Linked DNA regions of Homo sapiens: all the other regions are linked to region 3. Evidence: promoter capture Hi-C in 16 types of primary human blood cells and fetal thymus (Javierre and others, 2016). All regions are on one chromosome and are shown on one strand. Each heading gives the region's core, a stretch centred on a gene start or on the middle of the fragment in contact. The rest is flanking DNA. Distances are from core to core; before and after follow the strand shown.

Region 1 (2,700 bases), core at 201-2,700, 920 kb after region 3:
AAAGGAAATTCATTAAACTGCTTCAGACCATAATTATCTTAATATGAGGTAATCTGTCAGGCCCGTCCCTTCTCCCCCTTTTTTCTCCTCTCCCCCATTGCCTCCTTTTTCTTTCTTCCTTTCCTCCCTTTCATGCAGTTTTATGTATATAAGTGTTTTTAAAAGTCAAATAGTTTTATAAGGCTTATAACAAAAAAGAGGCATCTCTCTCTCCACCCTTCCTCACTCTCAGTTCTGATTTCCTAGAAAGCAACCACTCTTTTAAGTTTTCCTTATGGTTTTTGACTCCATATTTCTAAATAAATGGGAATACTGTGATTTTTTGACTTTTAAAAAAATTTTTAGATAGTGCCTGTTGGTTTCTGTTATAGAAGATGAATATATAGCTCTTTTTTTTACCCCAACCCACATAAACACACACCAACATCAAGGTTTACGTTATTATAATTAAATATTATTCACAGCTGAGCCACATAGGTACAGTAATTAAATGTCCCTTCTATAAATTTTCATTTTTGTTTTCTTTGATTATTAATTTATCCTCAATTCCCTACCACTTGTAGTATCTCCTTACAATCTATTCAAATGCCTCAGAGCATCTGATCAATTTCATCTTCTTTCTTAAGACCTCCTTCTTGGTGTCCAGCCCATTATAACCTCGGCTGCTTTCCTGATGTCCCTATACCTCTTTTCCTGGGTAAATCCCATGTCTTCCTCTTCTTGACTCACTTGCTTATTTTGGAGGAGGACATCTTCCAGTAGCTTCCTTAGAAGAGTACATGGAGAATGAAATTTGAGAACTTGTAGGTCTAAAATCTTTTTACCCTACTCTTATTCATGATTTGGTAACTTGGCTAGCTGTCTTAGTCCAGTCACACTGTTATAACAAAATACCATAGACTGGGTACCTTATAAACAATAGAAATTTACAACATTAGTTCTCGTCCACCTAGGGTATGGGGAGACATGTCCGAAATCAGGAAGGCCCTTGACAGCCAAGCAGCAGCCTGAACACTCAACTTCATGGAGGATAAAGGCTACCAGGAAGGAAGAGAAGGGGGGAGAAGGAAAGGGAGAGATTGTCAGAGAAAAATTGTTACTTCAACGTGGGCATTAGGTGAGCCAGGGCCTCCGTAAAACTAATGCACTAAATCAAGGATGGTCCAGCTACCAGGACAGGCCCCCGGTATGAAGTGCAGCAAGACACAATCCAAGTCCTGTCTAAAGTCGCAGGATGACAGATTAACAGAGCCGAAAGGGACCACAGTGATCATCTCTCCAACTCTTTCATTCGAGGCTCAGGGCTTCAGGGCTATGTCTTGGTTCACAGAACACAGTGCTGGCTGCAACCGGTGCCACCATAGAAGGACAGCACCCACTGCCCATGTGCGTTGCTCTCCGGCTCCACAGAACTTGATGCACAGCTTTGTGCACTGGGCACTGGCTGACTCCCTCAGCGGTAACTGTTTCTCATCAGCTCCTCACAGTCTGCCTTCCAGCCACCCGGGGGGCCCCTGGGCTCTGCAAATTCACCATCAGCTCTGCCGCTTTGAGCTTCTGACATGCTGTTTTCTTAGGTCCTCTTGGGTTTCGAGTTACATTTTAGGATGGTCACTTTTTTTTGCTTTTTGGACTGGAACAAGAAAAGACTAAAAGGAGGCTGCTGTAGTGGTCCAAGCCCTCCATCACAGTGGCATGGACCAGGTAGAGATGGTGGCCGTAGCAAGAAATGGGCAAATTTGAGGCTTATTTTTGAAGGAGAACTGATAGGACTTGCTGATGGACTAATGATGGAAGTGGGGGAGTCAGGTGTAACTCCTCAGTTCCAGCTTAAGGAAGTGGAAAGTCATGGTGCCACTCACTGTCAGAGGCAAAGCTGGGTCATGAAGAGGTGGTTTGGGGGGGAAATAAAGAGATTTTTAAGACATGCAAAATTAATTGCAGTGTTTCAGACAGATACAACAGGAGGTTGTCTGAAAATGCCAAATGAACATAACCCTGAACCCTGGGGGTCTCAGAATACTCTTCTGGGAAATCAAAAGGCTGAATAATATCATCCTGATGTACCCCTCCCACACACCAACAACCTTCATTCCAACACTTGGTCTAGGCTGGTCTCTCTCCAGAAGTTGGATATGTCGACTCGTATCTCAGAGGAGAGATCTAGGCTGAAATGCATGGACTTGAGACAGCAGCATGAAGATGAAACTTAAATTCAGGGTAACTTATGCAGTCATATGGGAAGAAAGTATGGGAAGAAAAGAGAAGATGACTCTGGGCTGCCTGAGCCTTCAGGAGTCCCAGCTTTCAGAGGTCAGGTAGGTGAGAAAGACTCTAATAGCTCCTGTTCTTTTAGCACTTCTGGAGGAAGGTGGGCAAAGCAGTAGAAAACCTGTTCAAACTTAAATGACTCAAGTTTTCCCTTGACTTCTGGAGTATGCCTGGTAGGGACGAAGACTACAACTATTACCTAAAACCCAGCCTCTGGCAACCAGGAAATGACTCCCTCTGTGAGGACCATGACCCAGTTAAATCGAAAGCTACTCCAAACCCCAAGAACAGGTTTTCTAAAGAAAGACCCTGTCTATTAAAACCCCTGGAAACTGAAGATGTGATTTCACAGTTTGACAGTTGATTCTGTGGTGGACTGTGTTTGTGACACATAGGGAAACAGTTAATGATAGAAAACATCATCACTTC
Region 2 (2,700 bases), core at 139-2,638, 830 kb after region 3:
CCCGTCCACCATCACGTGCCTTGTAAGATTCAGAAAAGAGCATCTCCTCAGTGGTTCTCAAGCCTGGTTGCCCACTGAAGTCATCTGGGAGCTTTAGAACAATTCTGATCCCTGGGCCCACCTGGAGACTGATTCGATTGGTCAGGGGCCTGGCTGCAGCAGCCGAGTGTTAAAAGCCCCTGGTGAGTCTCATGTGCAGCCTAGCTTAAGAACCATGTCTGCTCTAGACGCAGTATCAGCCCAGGCTGCACTTGAGAATCCGCCCACCCCCAACTCCCGGGGGAGCTTTCAGAAATACCAGTGCACAGGCCTGCCCCAGCCCACTTCAGCCAGAGGCTCTGAGATGGAGCCCCCGCCAGGTAGGATAGACGTGCCACACGGCTGAGAAAGTTGGTGTAGGAGGATCAGCGGGCCTCTCCCTTCCCTGCAGTGCCATGCGGCGGTGTTCACAGCTCGCCGCCCCCTCCCCCTCCGTCCCACTTACTCCAGAGCCAGGCCCCATCCTGATCTGCGGATCTGCCGCACAGGTTCAGGTTGCCCCCTCTGTAACTTACAGCCGACCCTCCAGACTCAGCCTCACCTCCCCTTTAGTAAGCCAACAATGGACTCACATACAAAATGCAATGTGGTGTGGGGCCTACAGCTCTCCCCCTTGTGCCACCAACTGGTGTGTATAGGCTGTCCCTCAATAGCTCTTGCTGTGAAATTTGCAGCCTATTTAACGGCTGTGCATGTGTGTGTGCATGTGTTGGGGTGGTGAGTGCAGGAGTTGGGTGGGAATCAGAGGTGAGCTAGGGTCCCCAATCCACACTCCAGGCACCTTGAATCCACCCATGGTCAGTCTTCCTGCACTGTTGAGGAAGGTTTGTAATAATTTTTGCTAATACCCCATCCCCTCTCCCCACCCCCAGATTCCACTTGCCCATCCTGCCCCCTACACTCAGCACCAGCCAAGCGCCTGGCTCCCAGGAGTTTCCCAGTAAGCATTTTCTGAGTGACTGAACCATTCTTCTCTGCAGCCAGACCTGAGTCCAACCTGAGCCACCCTTTGCTGCCCTCTCCAACCTAGGGGAGGTTGTGGCTGTGCTCAGCAGGGCCTCAATAAGGAACTGGGCATGGATTTTGCAGGGGGCTTTGGTGAAGAAAGTTCTACCTATAGGTATTAAAGATAGAGATTAAGGGAATGAGCCACTCATCATTCCAGGGACATGCTGCTGTCTCGCTGAGCAGGGATGAGAATTTATTGGTCTCCTTGGCACAGAGTGGCTGGCCACAACCTGGCTGGGAACACTGAACTGAGGGATCCCACCACGGTAATAGGGCCCACGCTGCCCTTCTGGCAGGGCATCACTCAGAAGAATTTTTCCAGCCCGAAGGATCTGTCCGTTCAGGGTCTAGCCAAAATCATAGAGCTTGCCTTAGTTTCAAAAGCAACCAGGTCAGAGGTGGAGGCTATTCTCTTTGAACCTTTGGAGGCCGTTGATGTGGTGTTTGAAGTGCCCACGCTGGCCGCCAGCCTGAGTTCCTTAGACACAGGCAGCCTGCGCAGACGACAAGGCTCGGGCCCCTGACGGAGGCCCCCAGTGCCGCCCGCTGGTGTGCTGGCCTCGTGACGCCCTCACCAAGCTAGCAGTGGCTTTTAACAGCCAACCTCAATTTCCAGTTCCCTTGCACATTTTGCTTTCTCCCACTCATAGGTACAGGAAGTCTGATCGGGAGCGGGGCCAGCGTCAGGGACCTTGGTGAGGAATAGCAGCAGGTTGCCCTGGTTACGGTCTGACCCAAGGATGTGAGGAGGACCGGGCCAGGCTCCCACCTGAGCCCCTACTCAGGGCACCTCCTCATGCCCGAAGCCAGCTAATGTCACCCAAATTGGAGCACTCAGGACCAAGGCCTAAACATTCCTTTTTCCCCTGGAGCACAGGGATGGCTCATGTGGCTTAATTATACTGTTCAAAAGGGAGTGAGCTGAGAGAGGAAACTGCAGCAGATAGACCTATACCTGGTAATCAAATGTAATCAGTTTCCAATGTAGGAAGATTTCAGGCATTTACCCAGGTGCTTGGGGGAGGGGACACAACAATTTGTGGTCTTCCTTCTCTTTCCCCTTATTTTTCTGATTCAGAAACCAGTCATCACAGAATCTATGGGGACTGGGTGCTTGCTCAGGAAGGATAAGGTGGGAGAGGGAGAATTCATTTTGAAAATTATAGTCATGCCTGAGACAGGGCAGCTTCGGTGACTTCCAAGCAGCAGCTCCTTAGCAGCGAAGCCCAAAATCCCTCCTGAGTTTCCGGCCTGTGTTGTGGCCTGAGGGCAGCAGCCACATCTCTCCACTAGGTGCATTTTAACATGTTAAAAGGAAATATGTTAAAAGGATGGCTCTGAGTAGCCACTGAAATTAATTGCACAATTAGGCTTGTATAAAATCTTTTTTATGCAGTAAGGGATGGGACCGTGTAGATTTCCATTACAGAAAGAATTGTCCCTGTGATTCACAAAAGCATGATGGGAGCACTTCACAGCCAAGATGTCGGCCTGGTGATCTGACAACGTGGCCTTTTGGAATTTTGAAATTCCAATTATCTCTTTTAAATATTCTGAAAATAAAAGTATCAAATCCTGAAATAATAAATACTAGAATATGAATCAGAAATCTAATTTTGCCCAGGGCAAGAAATAATTTTTTCCAGTTAAAAA
Region 3 (2,700 bases), core at 62-2,561:
CTGTATCTTTCTTGGTTCTGGTGTACAGTGGAGAACAGGGTCAAGATGAGTGTGGAATCCATTTATTTTTTTACGTGTTTATAAGCACTAGAAAGCAGTGAGCACTAAGCAGAGGACCCCTCTTGCGGAAAAAGTGCAGGAGAGCTCCTGGGTGCCTCTGTATCACCGGTTTGCCTTCTAGCCAGAATCATTGCTAGAACCCTGTCACTCAGTTACTTTGGTTCCTAATTTAACCTCTTCCCAAGCCTTCTATTGCGTTCAGTTAGCTAGGCCAGGAGCTTACAGCTGTCTGGTTGGTGCTGGCTCAATGTGCTTATTCCCTGGAAGATAGAAGGATCACTTACAAAAAAATTTACAATTAAAATAAAAAAATTATTTTTTGCTGAAGCATTGTAAGGTTTTTTTAATTCACTCAGACCCAAAATCGTAAAACTAAAATATTTCAAGACATTACTTGATTCACCCCCCACTTCTCTTTCTCCCCTGTTTCTCAGCACTTTGCACCAGATACAGAAACCACGGGTTATGTCCAAACCCTGGTTTTGGTGTGACCACCGCCTTCCGTGTACTGCCTGCGGCTCGCTTCGGGCCCACACGGGACACCGAGGCATGATGAGGACGCAGAACAGCAGAAGCGCGCCCTGCTTCCCGGGCGCCAGTGCTCGGGGCCAGCGGCGTGTACCCGGCGGGCCCGGCCGGGAGCGGGCTGGCGATCGCGGGGCTCGGCGCTCCCGGCTCCCGCGCCATCTCCCGGCGCCCGCCAACTTCGCTCCGCCCGCGGCGTAGAGAAGCTCGCAGCCCTCCGGAGCCTCAGCGATCTCCTGGCTCGCTTTTCCCGCAGCCGCCGAGCAGCGCAGGCCCGGCGACTCCGGGTGCAGCTGGCCCTGTGCGGTGACATCGCCGTCCGGCGCCAGGCTCGAAGCCGCCTGGCCGCGCCCGCGGGGTCGCAGGCCGCTGGTCCCGCCCGGCCGCGCTCACAAACTACTCGCGGCTCGTGACCCGGGACAAACTTCTGGCGGCGGCGCAGCCTCTTCCACAGTCACCCTCCCCAGAGCCAGCTACCAAAATAGAAGACGCGGCCGGGGCGAGGAGGTGGGCGGGGGGAGCCCGGTGGCCGCTCCTCCCCGCGCGGCTGACGCCCGCTTCGGCGGCGGTAGTGGCTGTGGCCGCGGGGCCGCCCCCAGCCGAGCTCCCGGAGGCGCTCGGGCGCGGGCCGGCGGGGCACGGGCGCTCACGCCCTCTAGCGGGCCGCGGCGGCGCCGGGCGGCCGTGACGTGAGCGCTCCCTTCAGCCGGCCTGCGGGGCACCGCCAGTCAGTCGGGGAGCAAGAGCCCCGCGCGCAGCCGGCGCGGGCTCGGTCATCGGCGCGCCGCCGCCCGGGGCTGGGCTTGGGGCTGCCTGTGGAGAGGCGGCGGGCGGAACGCGCGCGGCCACGGCCACGGCCACCGCCACGGCCACGGCCGGCAGCTCGGGTCCCGGGTCCCGGGCAGGGGAAGGGGAGAGGCGGCGAGCTCAGCAACCGGAACCGAGGGAAGATTTTGGCTCCGCGGGCTCGCCCTCCGCTCCCTCTGCCAGCGGCGCCAGACGCCGAGTGGGGCCAGGGACAGGGGAGGAGGACCCAGGACCCTGTGCCCGCGCCCCTGGAGCCGCTGGAGTTCGGACTTCTGCAACTGTTGGCACTTTGGGGGCTTGGCTTAGCGCTCTGCTGTTTACCCGTCTCTCCTCGCTGCCTCGGAACCAAAGCTCCCGGCCCCCTCCGCCCTCGCGCGCCCACCCACCGCCGCCGGGGAGCGGCCCGGCCCGCACTCAGCACCATGAGGGGACTTGGGACTTGCCTGGCGACTTTGGCCGGACTTTTGCTAACTGCGGCGGGCGAGACGTTCTCAGGTAAGCGGGACCGCCTCTGCCGCCCCCGAGGCGCGCGGGCCGGCGCGGGACGCCCGGGACGCCGACAGCTCCCTGGTGGTAGAGCCCTAAGGCTGGCGTCGGGGCCGGGCGGGGGGCGCGGCGGGCCGGACACCGCTTCTGCCTGTGAGCCGGGCGCTGGGCGAGGGGCCGTGGGGCTGGCAGGCACCCAGTCCTCGGGCGGGCGGAGCGGACGGACCCCGAGGGCGAGCTCCCCAGCCGGGACTGCCAGCTCGGCCGCCGTCCTTCCGCGGCCTGGGCTAGTGCTCAAGGTTGGGCGGCTTGCACTCTTGAGTCCCTGGCCGGCTGCAAAAGGAACAGCAGAAAACTTTGCTTGAAGTTCCCAGTTGCAGCCGCCGGGCCGCCTGGCGTAGGCGCTGCGCGGTCCCCGCCGACCCCGAGCAGCGGCCGGGCCCAGGCCGCTGGTGTTCGGCTGCGCCCGCAGCGATCGCCGGGAACTGGCGGCCGCTCCGGCGGCGGCGATCTCCCGGTGCCCTGCCCTCCCTGTCGCCCCCTGCCCGGCGCGGCTGGCGACCCCGGGAGGTCCCCGCGGTCGTGCAGCGTCTGCGGAGAGGCTGGGGGGAGTTCCTCGCCGGTCCCAGCGGTAGGGCTTGGCGGCCGCGGAGGGAAGCGGGCAGGTCCCCAGGCCCTGGCCACGGCCCTGCGCCCCGCTGGGCTCCCCCTCCCCACCCTCGTCCCCCTAGCGGAGCGCCGCGGCCAGCTGCAACTTGTTCATCCAGCCCGGCTGCCCGGGGGTCCCAGGTGGGAAGGAGAGGCACTGGCGGTGTGCGAGCA

Evidence for each region. Contacts are between HindIII fragments. The CHiCAGO score rates a contact against its expected background, and 5 or more counts as called.
Region 1: a contact is called between a fragment that was not itself captured here and the fragment with the promoter of PTPRM in region 3, in 1 of 17 cell types (endothelial precursors). The highest score is 7.7, in endothelial precursors.
Region 2: a fragment that was not itself captured here is called in contact with the fragment with the promoter of PTPRM in region 3 in 2 of 17 cell types (M0 macrophages and fetal thymus); the score reaches 5.7 in M0 macrophages.

What each region holds. Positions count from the first base shown.
Region 1 is chr18:8,483,716-8,486,415 of GRCh38, forward strand. No RefSeq gene overlaps it. Among named protein-coding and RNA genes, the nearest start is that of RAB12, 120 kb to the right of the region's middle. The HindIII fragment of the contact is 4,223 bases long and covers 1-2,700 here.
Region 2 is chr18:8,400,145-8,402,844 of GRCh38, forward strand. The region is part of intron 32 of PTPRM (protein tyrosine phosphatase receptor type M); the gene reads left to right. LOC124904241 (a long non-coding RNA gene) reads left to right here. Exons shown (of 2, transcript XR_007066275.1): 2 at 1-2,700. Among named protein-coding and RNA genes, the nearest start is that of RAB12, 210 kb to the right of the region's middle. RefSeq lists an enhancer at 1,080-1,610. The HindIII fragment of the contact is 3,533 bases long and covers 1-2,700 here.
Region 3 is chr18:7,566,005-7,568,704 of GRCh38, forward strand. PTPRM (protein tyrosine phosphatase receptor type M) reads left to right here and starts at 1,312. Exons shown (of 33, transcript NM_001105244.2): 1 at 1,312-1,887. The coding sequence starts at 1,815. RefSeq lists a silencer at 993-1,362. The HindIII fragment of the contact is 6,488 bases long and covers 1-2,700 here.